2 separate regions of the Homo sapiens genome follow, and region 2 is linked to region 1. Evidence: promoter capture Hi-C in human tissues and cell types (Jung and others, 2019). All regions are on one chromosome and are shown on one strand. Each heading gives the region's core, a stretch centred on a gene start or on the middle of the fragment in contact. The rest is flanking DNA. Distances are from core to core; before and after follow the strand shown.

Evidence for each region. Contacts are between HindIII fragments. The study calls those that stand out against the background at their distance.
Region 2: a fragment that was not itself captured here is called in contact with the fragment with the promoter of OR1Q1 in region 1 in 2 of the 25 tissues and cell types used here (H1 embryonic stem cells and stomach).

What each region holds. Positions count from the first base shown.
Region 1 is chr9:122,610,440-122,617,199 of GRCh38, reverse strand. It overlaps OR1Q1 (olfactory receptor family 1 subfamily Q member 1), which reads right to left and starts at 2,462. Exons shown (of 1, transcript NM_012364.1): 1 at 1,518-2,462. The coding sequence starts at 2,462. The coding sequence ends at 1,518. The region is part of intron 1 of LOC124902265 (a long non-coding RNA gene); the gene reads right to left. The HindIII fragment of the contact is 8,234 bases long and covers 1-6,760 here.
Region 2 is chr9:122,484,936-122,491,695 of GRCh38, reverse strand. It overlaps a transcript of OR1J2 not described here. Among named protein-coding and RNA genes, the nearest start is that of OR1J1, 10 kb to the right of the region's middle. The HindIII fragment of the contact is 4,254 bases long and covers 1-3,377 here.

The DNA of each region.
Region 1 (6,760 bases), core at 1,213-3,712:
TTTATTACCACCAGCCCTGCCTTACAAGAGCTCCTCAAGGAAGCACTAAACATGGAAGGTAACAACCGGTACCAGCCACTGAAAAAACATGCCAAATTGTAAAGACCATCGATGCATGAAGAAACTGCATCAATTAATGTTCAACATAACCAGCTAACATGTAGTTGTTTACTTCTGGGTTCTCTATTCTGTTCCATTGCTCTATGTGTCTGTTTTGGTACCAGTACCATGCTGTTTTGGTTGCTGTAGCCTTGTAGTATAGTTTGAATTTGGATAGTGTGATGCTTCTGGCTTTGTCCCTGTTGCTTAGGATTGCTTTGGCTATTTGGGCTCTTTTTTGGTTCCATGTGGATTTTAGAATAGTTTTTTCTAATTATGTGACAAATGTCATTGGTAGTTTCATAGGAATAGCATTGAATCTATAAATTTCTTTGGGCAGTATGGTCTTTTAATAATATTGAAGAATCAACATTTTAACAGACTCTTGATGCTTGAACCTGTTCTTCATGCCCAGTATTGATTGGTCAGAAGACAAATCAATTTTCACCCACTATTAGACCAGTTCCACATATCAACTACAGAAGAGATCAGGAACATGCTGAGGCAAAATGAGTTTGACTTATCCCTGAGTAGTGCAGGTAAAGCAGGTTAAGAAAAATGCAAATTGGTAAGCATGACAGTGCTTCATTCTGGAGCATATATAACTTCTGACTCCAAATAGTAGACATTATCATTATGTTCCTCTTCTTATATTGGAGTAGTTACCCCATTTCACCTGACTTCTATAAACTTATAGAAAATAAAAGCACCAATATTGCTCTCCTAGTTTTCCTGGCAGCTAGGGGATGTGTTGGTGACCAAATTCTTGACCAGTCAGATGCACCACCTTATTTTGAATCTAGACATAGTAGTGAAAAGAATAAGAAGGGGACAGTTCTTTCTGGAAGTGGTAATAACCAGTTTATAGACCTCCAAGAACTATGCCCAGTGACTACTGCTGGTAGTATAGGAGGAGGTACAAGCTGCAGTGAATAGAGTTTGGTGGCTACAGTAGTGTCCTCATTAGACTAGTTCTGGGATATGATTTTCACTGCAGTTCTGATGATATGACCTTTATTATTCTTGTCCATTTTTCTTGAGTCTAGTTCCCTAGCCTTGGAAATGCATGAGCTCCACATATCTTTTCAAGAAACTCATTTCCTCCATGCATAAGCCAGAATCAGTTTCTATTGCCTACATCTAAGAACTCTGAGAGTTACAACCCTAGTGTTTAATTGCAGAGAACCCTGTTAATTATAGTTAAAGAAACGCTAGTGTTTTACACTAAGTACATGGTGGTTCCTTTTTGTTTTATGTACTTTGGATTTAATAGATTTCTCTGGGCAATATCCAGTGAGAAAACACATGATATATAGCTAATTTAGATATTTCTGGAAAGTTCTAAAGAAAGCAGATCTGTGAGGCACAACATTATTTCTCCAGAACCATAGGTAAACCTCTGAACTGTGTTTGGGGTTTTATCTAAAGAAAAAAGTCTGCATTCTGCTCATCCATTTCATGAAGCCTCCCTTGACATCCCCATTCCTCAGGCTGTAGATGAAGGGGTTCAGCATGGGAGTCACCACTGTGTACACGACTGTTATAATGCGACCCTTGGTCACTGAATAGCTGGAAAGGGGCCGGAAGTAGACCCAACTGAGGGTGCCATAGAATATGGCCACCACAGTGAGGTGGGAGCCGCAGGTAGAAAAGGTTTTCCACCTGCCCTTGGCTGAGGGGATCCGGAGGACCACCAGGATGATGCAGGCATAGGAGGCAGTAATGAAGGCCAGAGCTCCACTGATTACAACAGCACCTTCTGTGTGAATCATAAGGGTGTTGAGGTAGGTGCTGGTGCAGGAGATCTTCATCAGAGCGTAGAGGTCACAGAAGAAGTGGGGGATTCTGTTATCTGCACAGAAGATTAGTTGGCCTATGAGAAAGGTATGCAGCATGGCATGAAGGTGGGAGAGAGCATGGCACATGACCACCATCTTCACACACAGCATTCTAGTCAGGATCATAGTGTAGTGGAAAGGGTGGCAGATGGCAATGTACCTGTCATAGGCCATCACAGCCAGGATGAAGTTTTCCATGACGGCGAAGCAAATGAAGAAATAAGTTTGGGCTAAACAGCCTGTGTAGGAAATTACCTTTGTAGGGGAGAAAATAATCTGCAGCATCTTGGGGACCGTGGTGGAGGTGAAGCAGATGTCTGTCAAGGCCAAGTTACTGAGGAAGATGTACATGGGGATGTGGAGGCGTGGAGCAGAGAGAATCAGTGTGATGATGGCCAAGTTGCCAGAAATATTGATTGCGTACATGAGTGAGAAAACAAGGAAGAGTGGGATTTGCTCTTCTGGGTGGGTGGAAATGCCCAAGAGAACAAAATGGGACACACTGGTCCAGTTGCTGTTGTCCATCTGTTGCCATAAGAACAAAAAGAATTAGTTCTATAGACTTGGACATATAGTCACTGTTGTGCCCCAGTGTAAACTACACACTGTGCTGATAAAGGGATTAAGTGCTTATGACTTTTCCAAGATAATATGGATTTTTCATTAACATCATCATTATTAAAAGTACTGCTAAAAACCACAATTACTTTTGCACCAACCTAATAGCCCCATAGCTAACATTTACAGAACATTTACCTTAAACCAGGGACTTTTCTGTGTTATCACATTTAAATCAATAACTCTATGAGGCTATTATTACTACTACTACTATTATTATTATTATTATTTCACTTTTACAAATTTGAAAACAGGCACGGAAAGTTTAAGTTCATAAAGAGCAAAATATCAATTTAAGTCACATTTATCTGGTGCCAAAGATTATACTATTAGCCACTATATGACATGACTCCCCAGATTAAAACCAAGCCATCTTATTCATGGTAATAAGACCTATTGATGAGCTATATAACCAAGGAATCTGCCTGCTGAAAGGGAGGTCAGAGGTCATTTGGTTCAGTAATTTTCACTTTGGGGGACACATACTCTTGCTGATCTCCAGAGACTTCTCAGTACATAGAATAATGGTTTTAGGAAAATAATTGTCTAGATCCTCAATTTCCACAGTTCTCTTTTCTAAACTCTTCTTATCTTTAAGATGTCACCTAGTGCATAATCTTGTTTCCCATGTAACAAATGAAAACTAAATGGTAATATAATTGATGTTGATTTTGACTTACTTTAGTAATAAGTAATACTCATTTCTAGATATATGAACTAAAAAAGTCCTACTAGATGCCTTTAATTAAAATCTTTTTAGGAATAACAATTATTTTCAAAATTTGTGATATATTACCATATGAAATTACTATTTTTGTAGATCAAAATAGGTGAATGTTGGCAACTTAATATAATTGAAGCTAACAATTACATAGTTTTGGTCAGTTGTTTAAACTGACCAAATTGGTGCCAATTAGTAATAATTGTGATAATAACTCAATGTAGATGATTTTTCATAATTATTTTAACACAAAATTTTGTGGTCATAAGAAATAAAAAAACTTTTATTTTTTATTGTGAAAAGTAATATAGGTGATTATAAGAGACTTTCCAGCATAAACATTTATTACAACAGGATAAAATTTGTATAGGAGAAGAATGGAAATACATGTTTAAATGGAGAAGGAATAATGTAAAACATACACATTTTCAGGATGACTTTGTTCTTGCATTTTAAAAATGAATGATGTGATTATCAAATCACTCTGTGTTTAGATGTCATTGGGTACATTTTAAGAAATAATGTAAAGTTTTGTTTTAAAAGTACAATACTCCATGTATTATATACTTATAGCTATTTAAACATCAAATGGATAATTTTATATGCCTCTTTTTAAAAGCGCATGGGTCTTAATAAAAAAGCATATATAAGCAAAAACTATAAATCATTGAAAACTATAAACTCATTGATTGAGAACTTGACCCAACTTCTCAATCAATGTTCAGTCTCTTTTTATAGGATCCTGGGGAAATAATCATCCTTTCTCCTTTTGAACGCTTTTAGTGGCAGGAAGCTCTAGTTGTCAGATTTTTTTTTTTTTTTTTTTTTTTACAGGAGAAGCTAAAGTATAATTGCCTCTCATTTCTGTCTCGCAGAATGAGGTTGGTCCTCTGGGATCTCACACAACAAGCCTGTTATTCTTCACCATGACAGCCCTTGAGAAATCTAAACGTGCAGCACTGTGCAGTGGTTAAAAGCCCAGCCTTCATTTTCTCATCTGTCAAATGGGGATTTTTATAGTTTATTACACTTAAAGTTGTTACAAGGATTAGATGAAAGTACCTGGTTTCTGTAAAGTATTCAGTAAATGTTGGTGATTTTTTCTTTCATTTTTTTTCAGTCTTGTTAAACATAGCGTCTCCAGGTTTTTCTGCCATCCAGGTCTCTACTGTGACACTGTTCACTTTTCCTCTGTCCTTAAAATGTCATTTCCAGAAACTAAGCAATATTCTATGAGTCTGGTTTTTCATCACAGGCTAGTCACAATGATTTCATCTGGTCGTAAATAATAACCAAATAATCTTTTTGAGGTGGAGATCAGAGTTGGCAGTCCACAAATAAAATGTGTTTATGGCTATAAGAATTCTCAGACTGTGCAATTTGGTTGTTGGGAGGAAAAAGTGCCAGCAGTTAAGAACTGTTCCTATGTAAGGCACTTTACACATATCTCAGATAGTCCTTGTAGCAATCTCAGTATGTGTCTAGCTGTGTGTCCTAGTCACAATCACTTATTATCCTTATTTTATATATGAGAATACCAAGGCTTAGGGAAGTGAAGTGATTCACTCAGTATAACTTAGTAGTAAGTGGTAACGACTTCACACTTACGTCTGGATACCTCTAGTGCTCATACGTGCCTGATGGCCCATTTCACTTATTTAGCTTCTTCTTCACAGAATAGAATTTATCATTCCTGGTCTGTCTGCTTTCATGCCTCAAATTAAAGGATGCCACCATGGTACAGCTCAAGAGAACAAACAGTAGGTTTTTCAACTATAAAAGTGTGGCAATTCCTAATATGATATTGAATATCCTGAATTGATTTCAATGTGGCATGATGATGAATGTGAAATAAAAGTGCACATTTACTGAGCACTTACTATATACCAGGAATTATTCTAAGAGCTGTATATATGTTTTTCATGTGATCACAGCAATTCCATGACATAGGTATCAGCTCCACTTTATAAATGAGGAAATTGGGGCTTGAAAGGGTCCTGTGACATGCATAAGGTCACAGATTTAATAAGTGGTAGTAATGAAATTTGGATTCAGCTCTGCCTGACCTCAAAAGCCTATGCTCTCAACCATGGGGCTATGCTACTTCTTAAGTTTTCTCTCGCTATTCTAGTTTCTATTTTCCTCTTTGTTTCCTTCTTTTCTACTGTGCTATCCTGTGCATTGGACAATGATAAGTACCTATCATTTTTTTGTTTAATTCTCATTATAAAACTAAGCATAGATATTATTATTCCCATACTGAGATCATGAAAACCGAGGACCAGGGAGACTAATTAACTTTCTCAAGGTCAAATAGAGTAGAGTTGGATCCAGCTTGATCTTCAATCTGTCTAACTCGGAAGCAATGCTCTTCCTCTCTGACCTCACCGATTTAACACCCACGTTCCATTCCTTCCCTGTGCTGGTCTTCTCTTATCAATGTGGCATTGTAATTGGATTCTTCAAATGAAGATTCATATCTCTAGCCTGCAGGGCTGGGCATCAGGTGGCCCTGAGTTTATGGTTTGGGAAACGTAAGATTAATCCTTCTTTCCAGATCTTGGGAAAGGCCTATGAGTGGACTGAGCTCTACTTGACAGTCGGTAGCCTGTGCCCAGATGCTACCTGGGCAATATCTATGTAGCTCTTGTGACACAGCTACCCAAGAGGCTAGAGAGAGTCCCAGAAGTGGATGGTGGGGAGCTGCCTAGAAACTTAAGAGTCCTCCTTGTCTTCCTCATGGCTGGCAGAAATCATCTTGCCTGACCTATAGTGCAGCGTATGAGCCCCTTATGGCAGAGGGGAGGAGCGTGGTGTGGACAAGGAGGCAGGAGACTAAGAATAGGGAACTCCTAGAGGAGAACATTACTTTATAAAAGGATGTGGATTTTAAAATAAAACAGTAATGTGGTGTGCAGGAATGGAGCTTGACCCAGGAAATTTCCATTTTCTATCTGGGCTTTGGTCCCGGGTCTGCCATGAAAATGTTCTGAAACATTGGGAAAACCACTTCCTTTCTTGGAAGCCTCAGTTTCTTCCTCTGGGGAATGGGAAGAATAATAACTGCTTTCGATGTAGAAGCTTGATATAAAATATCAGAAGAGACTACAGACATGAAGGCCCTTTAAATGTCCCATGAAACAGTGAGAAGTTGTTTATTTTAAATTTCTGTGGGAACCTGGGTTTCCTATCCTTTGCTATCCCAGAATAGCTTTCTATAACTGCCAGCAATCGGATCCGTAAACTGCCCTTTGTAAATAGAGGAGACACTGGGATAACATGACTTAATAAAGTTTCTGAGTTTCTCTGATTCTTAATCCCCAGAAATGGGAAGAAAATCTGGGTCAGTTGTTAAGAGAAGACACACAGTGAAAAACCATTCCAGCGGATGATTTCTGGGCCACCTAACTCTGATTATTCTTAATACCTCCCTGACGGATTGAAAATCTCTGGAATCTATTAGCTATTTTCTCTGATTCAGGGA
Region 2 (6,760 bases), core at 1-2,500, 120 kb after region 1:
CCATTCCCACCTTTTATTTGCATTGCTCCTAGTCATGTCACCGAAATCCTCATTATTACTAAATCCAATGAATGGTTTCAGCACTTAACCTTGGCTCTACATTTTTATATTCTCCTTCTCCATCTCTGGTTGTTATTTGATGTCTTTTGGGGGCTTTATTTCTCTGCTACTATCTTAATTGTCAATGTTCCCTGTGGTCTGTCCTCAGCAACTATTCCCTTCCCTTTCCTTGCTTTTCTCCCTTCTCCTTTCCTCTTCTCTCCTCCCTTTCTCTCCCCTCCTTCTTCTTTTTCCTCAGCTTTTACTAACCTCATTTGTTTTCAGGCAATCTCATCCTCCTCTATGTTGACAGTCCATGAATTTCTATCTCTATCCAAAATATATCCACCTGCCTACTAAATTTGTCTCATGGATGACCTATAGGTACCTCATACTCTATGCAATACAACTTCTCAAATCTTTTTCTTCTATATTGCCTTCAGTGAATAGCACAACCATACACTCAGCTGTCCAAGCCATAAATTTAGAGAGGTTTTCAACTCCTTTGTTCTCCTTATTTTCTACATTCTTATCAAAATCAACTCACATCAAAATTACTATATCCATTAGATTCTGACTACGGAGACTTAAATCAATATAGTTCTAACATCATGGTCACTCTCTTATACACACTTTCATAATCTCTTACCTAAATGACTGTCATCTTCTCCTAATGAGTCTCTTTGCTTCTGGTCTTGCATTCCACTACCCCATGCCTGCTCTGCCAACATGTCCTCTGCCCACTGCAAACACATGCTCATTATCCACTCCTGAACTATACCAACTGTGTTTAGTATGATTGTCAATCTGCTGATCAAGTCCTTCCATGGCTCTTTCTTTCCTTTTGAGTAATATGCAAATTCTTCAATATGGCTTCTAAGGTCCTGCATGATTTATTCCTTCTAGTTTCTCTGGACTCATCCTGAACCTCTTCCCCTGTTCAAGTGTACATTTTAGCCACTCTAATTTTTCTGACAATTGTTTCCTAAATTTGCCATCCTTTCTCTTCTGTAGGTCTTTTCCTATTCCTCTGTTTCTCTCCCTTTCACTGCTCTGCCTCTATGTTGTTGACATCACCTTCTACTTGTTTTGATTTTCTTGAGTTTCTGCTTACTTGTAACTTTCTACAAGCCTACTTGCTGTTCTGTGTGGGAAACGCATGAGGGGAGAAGAAAAGACACACACAAAATACCTTTAAGGGTAAACAAGCTTTATCCCACGTAAATGGCAATGCAGATATAACAAGCCAATGATATAATAAGCAAATTGATATAATAAGCAAGTTGCAATGGGAAGGGGATAAAGGAAAAGAGATATATATATATTTACACTCACCACCCCACATTGGATGGGGAGATGCATTTGGGGATGGCCATTAATTCCATTCACCATCTGGGATAATATTCCCTCCCCAGTAATCTAGATGCTTACAAACATCACTGGTTATGAATGTGCCAGACTCCCTGATGATGGTACCCTATCACAGTATTCTCCCCTGCCACCAGTACAATCCTGCTTCAGCAACAAATTAAAATATTAAGCTTACATGTAGAAAAAGCTCTTAATGATAGTAGCACTGGACTTATGTTATCAGATGAATTTGCTCAGCCGTGCACTGTTGTGTTGCAAAATCGAGAGGCATTAGATATGCTTACCACAGCCCAAGGAGGGGTTTGTGCCTTACTGCATACTAAATGTTATGTGTCTATCCCTGACAATTCTCACAATATTACTCTCCTTGCAAAGCTATCGTAGGTGTGGTTTTTATTAATTGCGTTTTTAATTCTCCTGTGCTTACCATGTATCTGTAATCTATCAACTGTGCCTTCCCCATGTATCTGTAAGGGTATTTTCCTACAACTGAGTATCAAATTGAGGCCCAATGTGGAGAAAAAGTTAAATATTAAATTTGAACTCAATTGAACGTGGACACAAACAATGGTCACCAAGTCCGGGAACAGGTTGTGTGAGCCCCTTGAGGCATTCATCCAGCACTGTTTCGGAGAAATCTCTATTTCAATCTATTCCTATACATTGGTTATTGAAAAACAATAGATAATTGCAAAAACAAGTTGATCTTTTTGTGTTCCTTGAGCCCAGTCGCAAAGGGCCCTCGTCACTGGGCCTCATGCAAAACAACTTCTTACAAAAAGAGCTAGGGTCCCAGACCCTAGCACCGAAGCTTCATGAAACCTCTCCTTGTCTGTGCACGGACAAGTGGCCGACTCTGGAGCCCAGGCTGTTTCTTCCCAGTCTGGTGGTGAATCCTCCACAGTCTGGTGAGTTTTGTATCTGACTCTGGAACCCAGGCTGTTGCTTTCCAGTCTGGTGGTGAATCCTCCGTAGTCTGGCGAGTGTAAATATATATATATATATTTATATATGGAATAAAGGAATGGTGTGTGTGTCTTTTCTTCTCCCCTCATAAGTTTCCCACACAGAACACTTGCTTGATGCCTTTAATTTGGGTTTGATGCCCCCCTTTGTGTTCCCACAGCACTCGGCTCTTACCTTCATTACAGTGTCTGATGTGGACGGTTTTGTCGATCTCATTCAATGGATTGGGAACTCTTTGGGGACAGAAAATTGTGTTTTCCCATGGACACAGAGATGGGAACATCACACACCAGGGCCTGTCAATGGGTGGGGGGGTTAGGGGAGGGATAGCATTAAGAGAAATACCTAATGTAGACGATGGGTAATGGGTGCAGCAAACCACCATGACATGTGTATACCTATATAACAAACCTGCACATTCTGCACATGTACCCCAGAACTTAGAGTATAATAAATTTTAAAAAAAGAAACTTGTGTTTTCTTTACTTACAGTGCCTCACAAAATTCTTGCCACATCATATTTATACAATATTCTTCTGAATGAGTAAATGAATGCACAAATTATTCAAAGAAATAATGAAAAAAGCAATCTCCTCCACTTAATTCTCCGTCTCTTTTATATTTTTGCCAACCTGAATGTAGCAGGTTTCTGAAGATTCTCACACTCATTTTTATGGTCAAAGAATACTTTTTGAGCCCTGAGTCTGTTCCAACTATTATTATGTGTCATCACTAACCAAAAATAAATCCTGCATGTATTCAGGTGTTTCCCATGAGGAAAATAAATCTCTAGTCCTTGAAAAGTGTTCTTAATCCTCAGGGACTAGTAACACCTCTCCTTCCAGTTCCAAATTGAATGTGGGAAGGAGGAAGTCTGTATAGGCCAGGAGCGGTGGCTCACGCCTATAATCCAGGCACTCTGGGAGGCTGAGGCGGGCAGATCACCTGAGCTCAGGAGTTTGAGACCACCCTGGGCAACATGGCAAAACCCCATTTCTACTAAAAATACAAAAAATTAGCTGGACGTGGTGGCACACACCTGTAATTCCAGTTACTTGGGAGGCTGAGGCATGAGAATCACTTGAACCCAGGAGGCAGAGGTTGCAGTGAGCTGAGATCATGCCACTGCACTCCAGCCTGGGCAACAGAACTGTCTCAAAACAAAAATAAAACAAAAACAAAACAAACAAACAAAAAACCCAAAAGAATTATTTAAAATATAGAGCTCACTAATATAAGGGAGGCAACATGGAAGAAAGCCTAGAATGAAACCAGGCTTTAGGTTTGAAGTTAATGTGTTTATGTTTGAATACTCATTTAACCATTTACTTTTGAGACATTGTCAAACTCAATAAATGGGAAAAATACTATCTACATCAAATATTATTGTGATGCTTAAAAAATCTTATAGATGTGAAAGTTCTTTATAAATAAAAAAAATCTGTACATAATAAAAGTTCTTATTTATATTCCCATAGGAGTTGACTGTCCTTGGTGTCCGGCAAAGGCACATTTCAACTGGGAATATTAAGGGAAATACAGTAATTAGCCCCTAACTGTGTCTCACCACAGACTTCTGGCACCAGTCCCCTGGGTTCCCATCCAGGCAGGTAAAGGGAGATACTCTTGCTGTAGCCTTGTGGCTGGTGAAAAACAAAGAATGTGCCTCTTCTCCACTTCAGGGTTGAGCTCATGACTTTTCTCACTGTTCCAGCTCTAAGACTTTTGGAGAGAAAATGAATGATTGGTTCATACCAAGGAGCTGACAATATTTGAATTTATCACTGAACTAGGTAAGACCAATGCTTACAGACTCCATTAAGCAGTTTGTGTGTGTGTGTGTGTGTGTGTGTGTGTGTGTTAATCATCTCCTCCAAAATCTTGCAGATGAGTACACATGTGCCAGGTGGTTTATATAATTTTTGTATTACATCAAATAATTTAGGGTGGACATCATTATTATTATTCTCTGGTGTTTGTACTTTCCTCTTTAGGAAAATGTTCTCTCACAGTTTTGCTGAATATCTGGCCTGCATCCCAGCTATGAGCACATTCTTCAAGGTTTAAAAAATAATAATAATCTGCATTTTTATAAATAGTTATAAACATACCTACATGCAATTTCCTATTATGTCCTTTAAAAATTATATCATAAGCTTTTAATGAATTTATTTTATTGACTACATATTCTTTTCAATAATGTGTACCATAGTTGCCTTAACCTTTCCCTTACTGATGGAATATAGGTATCAACAACAACACTGGCCAGGGTCTTATTTGTTTTTTTCCTGGGACCCCGAGAAATTTACTTTCTGGGAAGCTGCCTTCGTAAATCCAGTAACTGATTTCCTGGTTTCTCTATTCTCTTCTGATCATCTGATTAAAGACTGAAGCAATACATCTATGCAAAGGCTTTTAAGAAATTACAGATTCCACCTCTTTAATGACAGGTGCATATCCAGATGTCTTTTCCATCAATGCTCTGCTGGAGGCAATACGACATGATGATTAGCAGCATGAGTTTGAAATCAGACAAACACAGGATTGAATGACCTCCCCATCATTTTCATGATGTAGAATTTTAGGCAAATTATTTATACTCTGTAAACCCTACTTTCCAATTGGTTAGATGAGAATAATGCCATTTTGTGATCCTGTTAGGCTGATATGATATAAATTGCATCACAGCAGCTGGCCTATATTATTATTCACACAATAAATATGTGATTAATGAATGATTGCTATTCTAATTTTTATTATCAGTATTACTGACATCACCATCATGGCACAAATCTTGAAACTATAGATTTTTATTCATCCTTAAACTCTCCAATTTACTTCATGAAATTCTTGAGTGCTCTCAGGCAGCAAATATTGTCCTATTTGAAGATATATTTAATAAGGGCTTTTAATAGAGTGGGAAGAATATAGTCTTTGAAGCCAGATGGACCTGCTATCAATTCCCAGGCTCACAATATACTAGTGCTATAATACTGGGCAAGTTTCATCACTGAATCCCAGTGTTCTCCTCTCCAAAGTGAGGATCAGAATGCCTACATTGGCTGGGCACAGCGGTTCATGCCTGTAATCCCAGCACTTTGGGAGGCCAAGGTGGGTGGATCACTTGATGTCAGGAGTTCAAGGCCAGCCTGGCAATATGGTGAAACCCCCTCTCAACTAAAAATACAAAAATTGGCCTGGCATGCTAGTGGGCACCTGTAATCCCAGCTACTCGGGAGGCTGAGACAGGAGAATTGCTTGAACCCGGGAGGCAGAGGTTGCAGTGAGTCGAGATGGTTCCACTGCACTGCACTCCAGCCTGAGTGACAGAGACTCCACCTCAAAAAAAAAAAAAAAAACTTATGTGGGAACAGGTGAATATTATTTGAAAATCACCTGGTACAAATTAAGCACTACATCAGATTTCTTAACAATTCAACTATTTCTACAGCCCAGCCTTACAGCAGTCATTGCAGCCAAACTGGAAAGATAGTAAATTTGTTCTCAGTGTCTGCAGCCTCTGCTTTCATTCTGCCTGTAATCTCCAACCTTGTCTCCTCACTTTGTCTGAGAAAGCCAGTGCATTTGTTCTGCCATCCAAACCTGGATCCCCAAATAAATTGCTCTCAGCCATTCTATCTGAGTTAGAGTGTTGGCCATAGGGCTCTCTCTCCCAGGAAAACTTAACTTGAAACCTAATCTCTAGTTGGAAACTTAAAGCCCTTTTTCTCTTGCTAAAAGAATTTCAGATATCAGCAAGCTATTGAGGGTGATGTCTTGGGTAGGGACAGGAAAGGCTCAATGTTGTTCTGAAAATCACATCACACTACATGTTCACTTAGAAAACAAAACTAACCCAGATAATCTGAAGAATGGTGAGAAACTTAGAGACATGGTTCTATCACTCATTTTCTACAATCTATGAAGATGTGGGGGTCAAGTTTGGGTCCAAAGTGCTGGAGTCTGTGCGGAAAGCCTTTAGCCTCTAAGACTAAGTAACAAACTAGCTTTCACGTGTTTCTGGGATTAATAGTAAAGCATTCATAAATATTCTAATTCTGCTGAAATTCTAATTCAATATTACATGGAGCCAGTTGTCTACTTTGCTGTAGTTACTGAAAGTTACCATTTGGCATGAATTTTCACCTACTAGATTAAGTTGGCTCATGTTTACACTCTTCCTGTCACTCGGTGGGGAAGAGGAACCAGGACTGGTAGGACATGGTTGCCTTTTGAATCCAGTTGAGAAAGTGATGGTGGGGCTTCTGCACACTGTTTTTTGTGTTTTTGAAACATGGTCTCACTCTGTCACCCAGGCTGGAGTGCAGTGGCAGAATCTCAACTCACAGCCTCGACCTCCCGAGCTCAAGCGACCCTCCCACCT